Linked DNA regions of Homo sapiens: region 2 is linked to region 1. The links are contacts of gene promoters, found by promoter capture Hi-C in blood cells and fetal thymus (Javierre and others, 2016). All regions are on one chromosome and are shown on one strand. The core of a region is centred on a gene start or on the middle of the fragment in contact, and the rest is flanking DNA. Distances in the headings are between cores, read along the strand shown.

Region 1 (3,138 bases), core at 575-3,074:
CCTCGTGATCCACCTGCCTCAGCCTCCCAAAGTGCTGGGATTACAGGCATAAGCCACCACGCCCAGCCTCTAGAGGAGTTATTTTACTTACTTACTTATTTATTTATTACACAGGATCTCACTCTGTCACCCAACCTGGAGTGCAGTGGCACAATCACGTTTCACTGTAACCTGAACTCCTGGGCTCAAGTGATCCTCCTACCTCAGCTTCCTAAGTAGCTGGGACCACAAGCTCGTACCACCATGCCCGCTATCTTTTTCTCTTTGTAAAGACAGGGTCTTACTATGTCATCCAGGCTGTTCTCAAACTCCTGGCCTCAAGCAATCCTCCCGTCTTGGCCTCCCAAAGTGCTAGGATTACAGACATGAGCCAGCTCACCCAGCTGAGGAGTTATTTTTTGACACTGGTGAATTCAGATCAAAAGGGATTTCTAAGAAAGGTGCTGGACCCAGGCCGGGCGCGGTGGCTCATGCCTGTAATCTCAGCACTTTGGGAGGCCGAGGCAGGTGGATTATCTGAGGTCAGGAGTTCGAGACCAGCCTGACCAACATGGAGAAACCCTGTCTCTACTAAAAATACAAAATTAGCCAGGCATAGTAGCGCATGCCTGTAATCCCAGCTACTTGGGAGGCTGAGGCAGGAGAATCGCTTGAACCCGGGAGGTGGAGGTTGCAGTGAGCCGAGATCGTGCCATCGCACTCAATCCTGGGCAACGAGTGAAACTCTGCCTCAAAAAAAGAAAAAAAAAGAAAGGTGCTGGACGCCTAGGACGCAGAGGGGTGTTTCACCCCAAATCAAGTAGCACCAAGCCCTCCCAGGCCTTGGGTGCAAGCATATTAAAGGCCTCTTTCCCTCTCTGTCTCCATTGTTTACACTCCACTGAGCATCCGCAATGTGCCACACACTGTTCTAAGCGTCTTACACATATTAAATTATTTAATCCTCACAACAACTTTATGAAGTGAGCGCAATTATGAGCCCATTTTATGGAGCAGGAAGTTGAGGCAGGGTTTTAGGTAGCTTTTCTGGGGTAGCACTGTGGGTTGGAGCGGAGGTGGAGTGCACTCTTAGGCCAGCTGGCTCTAGGGGCTCTTCACCACTAGGCCGCACTGCCTCTAGCAAAGGGACGCGGGGAAGCTCAGCAGACCTTAGGCCTCCCAAGGGCGCCACGGTGGTTCCTTTGAGCCCAGAGTCAGCTCTTAAGTCCATAGGCCTTCCTGAAGCTTCTGAACCACTTGCCCATAGCTGGGCCTCAGGCTGGCTCTCAGTAGAATGTGGAGAATGGAGATTCCCGCATGTCCACTTCTCCTAAAGGTTTTATAAGGCAGTGCTGGGAATGTGCTTTATAAAAAAGGGGAAGCACCCCGACAACAGTCACTGTTTGCTCTTTTAAGCACCATCCTGAGAAGGAGGAATGTTCTTCCCATTTCATAGGTGGGGAAACCGAGGCTCAGAAGAGCAAATTTTTGGCCGGGCGCGGTGGCTCACGCCTGTAATCCCAGCACTTTGGGAGGCCGAGGCGGGTGGATCACGAGGTCAGGAGATCGAGACCATCCTGGCTAACAAGGTGAAACCCCGTCTCTACTAAAAATACAAAAAATTAGCCGGGCGTGGTGCGGGCGCCTGTAGTCCCAGCTACTCGGGAGGCTGAGGCAGGAGAATGGCGTGAACCCGGGAGGCGGAGCTTGCAGTGAGCCGAGATCGCGCCACCGCCCTCCAGCCTGGGCGACAGAGCAAGACTCTGTCTCAAAAAAAAAAAAAAAAAGAGCAAATTTTTTTTCCAAGGTGATAGGGAGAGTCCGTGGCTGATGTCTGCACTGACCAGACGCCCCTAGGGGGCCAGCGAGGGCGGGTCCCAGGTGCAGCGGATGCAGAGGAGAGAGGCCCGGGCGCGGCGCGGGGGATGGTGCGATCCCGGGCCCGAGGGCATCAGACGGCGGCTGATTAGCTCCGGTTTGCATCACCCGGACCGGGGGATTAGCTCCGGTTTGCATCACCCGGACCGGGGGATTAGCTCCGGTTTGCATCACCCGGACCGGGGGCCGGGCGCGCACGAGACTCGCAGCGGAAGTGGAGGCGGCTCCGCGCGCGTCCGCTGCTAGGACCCGGGCAGGGCTGGAGCTGGGCTGGGATCCCGAGCTCGGCAGCAGCGCAGCGGGCCGGCCCACCTGCTGGTGCCCTGGAGGCTCTGAGCCCCGGCGGCGCCCGGGCCCACGCGGAACGACGGGGCGAGGTACTCGGCGGGGTGCGGCCTGCGGACTCGCCCGGAGGCCGGGGGGCGGGAGGGGGCGGCCGGGGAAGGGGGCGCCGGAAGCCTCTGGGCGTCTGCGTGTTGCCGCGTGTTACACGCACGCACGCCCCTTACACACCTTTTCACAGACCCCGCCGTCGGGGCGCGGCCAGGTCAGATCCCTTTTGATCCGGGCCTGGGCTGAGTGCTCCCCCCGGGCTTCAGGTGACGCGGCCCCGCGGAGCGTGGGGTCGCCCGAGTTGGGCTGGGGAAGCCAGGGACGGAGGTGTCCGGCCGTCACCCCTAGAGGAGGGCGTGCGGGGGTCTGTTTTGCGTGAGTGCGGGATAGGGGAGTCGTGTGGTGCGGTGAGGGGCTTGTGGGGGGCACTGGAGGACTCTGGGGGTGGCGGGGGATCCGAGGGGGTCCTCGTGAACCCGCAGGGGAGAGTCCTGGGTGAGGGTGGGTCCCGAGCACCTGTGTCTCAGGAGATGGTGAGAGCTGTCTGGAGGGCTGGGCACTTGGTGGCAGGGGTTGGCGGTGCAGGGGACACCGCCGGGACAGGGCTGGGGTGCCCTGGAGCGGGGGAGCCGAGGGAGTGGGAGCGGGGGCGCAGCGCGCGATCTCTGGCCCGGCAGGGCCGCTGGTTCTCCCCAGTGCGCGGCTCCGGGTTTGCAGGTGGACGGTGCGCGCGTGTCTGCGGTGTGTGCTGTGCCTGCAGACCGGGGAGGGCGGGGGACGACAGCCACCTCCTTCCCTCTGCCTCACCCCCCTCCTGTCCCAGGGCCGCGCTTCAATTTCCGCTGAAACTTCTGACTCGGACACCCGCCGCCTTTCGCTTGGGCTCCCACGGGAGGGGCCTGGCTGCGGGGGGCGGGGCGGGGTGGGGGTGCGGCCTTGCTCGGGTAG
Region 2 (3,154 bases), core at 400-2,899, 270 kb after region 1:
TGGATAAAGGGACGGAATGATGGGGGAGGGGGCTGTTTTAGACGCTATGGTTGGGAAGGCCCCTGAAGAAGTGACATTTGGGCACAGACCAGAATGAGGGAGACTGGGAGACAGGCACGCACGAATGGGATGGACGGCTGGGGCACAGTGCCAAGGGAGAAAAGCAATCCACAAAACAGCGCAAAAAAAGAAAACATTTTTTACTTAAACGCACATTCATTACTATTAAATTAGATAAGAGTCTGGGAGGCTCTATGCCAAATTCATAAAGGTAACTGTCCCAAGAGGGCAAAGGAATAATCAGGACTAGGTTTTGTGGTGGGCTTCCGCTTGCCTCTAATACTTTAAATTTCTAATATTTAATTATTTAACATTTTAATATTTTAATGTTTAAACGGTAAATATGGCTGAATGCAGTGGCTCATGCCTGTAATATCATACTTTGGGAGGCCAAGGCGGGAGGATCACTTGAGGCCAGGAGTTGGAGACCAACCACCCCAGGCAACAGAGCAAGACCTGGTCTCTATAAAACGTTAAAAACAAAATTAGCTGGGTGTGGTGGTGCCTGTAGTCCTAGCTACTCGGGAGGCTGAGGCAGGAGGATGGCTTGAGCCCAGGAGTTTGAGGTTGCAGTGAGCTATAATCAGAACATTGCGTGCCAGCTTTGGTAACAGAGCAAAACCCCATCACAAACAAACGAACAAACACATTTTAAAAAGTAAATATACTTATATAAAACTTGTGAAATGGCTGGGCATGGTGGCTCACACCTGTAATCCCAGTGCCTCGGGAGGCCGAGGCGGACAGATCACCTGAGGCCAAGAGTTCAAGGTCAGCCTGGCCAACATGGTGAAACCCCATTTCTACTAAAACAACAACAACAAAAAGCCTTGTGAAATGAAAACAAAAAAAAAAAAAAAAAGGAAATTTAAATCTACCACGGTCAAGTGGGTGGGTTCCAGGGCGGTGAAGGCACATACTGCCTTTCACTGGAGCCAAGTTCCTGGGGGCAGAGGTTTTTTTGGGGAGGGACACTGTAGGTCATGGTAGCCCAGCCAGTAGGAGCCCAGAAGCTTCTTGGAGGAGGTACCACCTTTGCTGAGCCTGAGATTCTCTGGCCCAGCACCCCCAGTATAGACAGGAATGGGTAGACATGTGCGCAAGGTTACAGAACAAGAGCTGATAAATAGAACCTGAACTCCAGACTCATCCCGGCTGAACCCGGGTTAACTATCCCGCCTCTTTCAGCCCTGCGCGTGCATCCAGCCCCTTCCCACAGCTGTAGCTCTTGCAGGCCAGAGGGACGGCCCTGCCGCGGGGGCCGGAGAGCAGCGCCACCTGCTGCTGTAAGAGGGAAACGCAACTTCCGGCTACCAGCAGGTTACACCCTTTAAAACCCAGCTCCTCTTCCTTAAATGATCAAGCAGTACCCCTCTACTCCGAATCTGTTCTGCACCTCCTTCGCAGTGCCTGGCAGGGCCCTTAGCGCTGTCTGGTTGGGTCTTCTCTGCAAGAAGGAAAAGTTGTTTCAGGAGGGGGCGACCATCTTCACTCTCATTCCAGCCCAGCGGGCACAGGAGGAGTTTACTCACAGAAGACAGGGGCACCTCACCTTCGCTACAAACCTTAGGGGTACACAATCCATTTGACAGCCTGGAAGAAGTCCCCAGGGAAGGGACAGAACCGCCCAAGGTCACACAGTTAATGAGTAGACAAGCTGGGGGGAATGAGTAGACTCATTCCACTGGGGATGGAAGTGGGGAAGTCACCGTATTTGAAAATAACTGACGCAGTTATTAGCAGCTCTTAGCATGTGGTCCCTGAACAGCAGCATCAGCAACATCTGGGAACTTGTTAGAAAAGCAAATTATCAGGCCCTGCCCCAACTCGCCTCAATCAGAAACTCTGGGGGGCCGGGGGCAGTGGCCATGTCTGTAATCCCAGCACTTTGGGAAGCTGAGGCGGGAGAATCGCTTGTGCCCAGGAGTTTAGGACCAGCCCAGAGAACACAGCAAAACCCTGTCTCTACAAAAAAATGAGAAGGGCGCACCTGTAGTCCCAGCTACTCAGGAGGTTGACGTGGGAGGATCACTTAAGCCCCGGGAGGTCAAGGCTGCAGTGAGTCATGATCGTGCCACTGCACTCCAGCCTGGGTGACAGGGCATGACCCTGTCTCAAAAAAAAAAGAAAGTGGGGGTGGGGCCCAGCAATCTGGTATTTAGCAAACAAGCTTGAGACCCTGAACCATTGGTCTAAAGGAATTGCACACCCCCCCTTTTTTTTTTTAAATTAAATAAACTTTTATTTTGGAATGATACTAGATTTACAGAGAAGTTGCAGAGATAGTACAAAGAGTTCCTGTATACCCTTCACCCAGCCTACCCCAAGGTCAACATCTTACATCACCATGGTACATCTGTCAAAACCAAGAGACTGAAATTGGTATATTAACTAAAATTCAGACTTTTTTCAGATTTCCAATTTTCCCACTAATGTCCTGTTTTTGTTCCAAGACCCAATCCAGGATGCCACATTGCACTGAAGACACTCTCCCTTTTCAATTCTATTACTGGTCACCTCAGTCAACTTTCCCGGGGAAAGAGAATGCATGGGAAAAGCTCTTGTCCTTATTATTGAACTGGAGAAACTGAGGCTTAAAAGTGCCGAGTGACCAAGTTCCCTTAGAGGGCAGTGAGAACAAGGCCTGCCTTACTCTGTTCCCTTTCCCCAGGGACTCTTGGTTTTCAGAAGCCCCTCTGGAATGTCCTACCTGGCCTAACCCCATACCAGCAGTGCAGACAAGGAGGCACTCCTACTACAGTGGGTCCAGCCCATGGAGAGACTCACTTCCTGCCCCAACACCTCTTCCCCTAGACCCTGAGGGCCAGGACAATGTCTTAGTGCCTTCCAACTTGGCAGAGTGAGGCCCCATGAGACAGAGAGAAAGGGGGAAGAGGGAAATACCTTTATCCAAATAAATACCCATCCAAAATTATTTGTGATAGGTGAAAAATGGCCACAAGCTCTTTGTGGTTCCCCTCATCAAGACATGTAGTCTGTTTCTCATCCCTTGAATCTGGGTAAAGCCTTGTGATTTGCTCTGACCAAAAGAACTTAGCAGAAGTGACACTGTCCTAGTCCCAGTTCCAGGCCA

What was found. Contacts are between HindIII fragments. The CHiCAGO score rates a contact against its expected background, and 5 or more counts as called.
Region 2: a contact is called between a fragment that was not itself captured here and the fragment with the promoter of TRIB3 in region 1, in 1 of 17 cell types (total CD8 T cells). The highest score is 5.6, in total CD8 T cells.

The regions. Positions count from the first base shown.
Region 1 is chr20:378,936-382,073 of GRCh38, forward strand. It overlaps TRIB3 (tribbles pseudokinase 3), which reads left to right and starts at 1,825. Exons shown (of 4, transcript NM_021158.5): 1 at 1,825-2,234. RefSeq lists silencers at 2,109-2,268, 2,289-2,398, 2,669-3,138 and an enhancer at 2,944-3,138. The HindIII fragment of the contact is 2,528 bases long and covers 1,223-3,138 here.
Region 2 is chr20:644,340-647,493 of GRCh38, forward strand. SRXN1 (sulfiredoxin 1) reads right to left here. Exons shown (of 2, transcript NM_080725.3): 2 at 2,276-3,154. Among named protein-coding and RNA genes, the nearest start is that of SRXN1, 7.3 kb to the right of the region's middle. The HindIII fragment of the contact is 1,157 bases long and covers 1,072-2,228 here.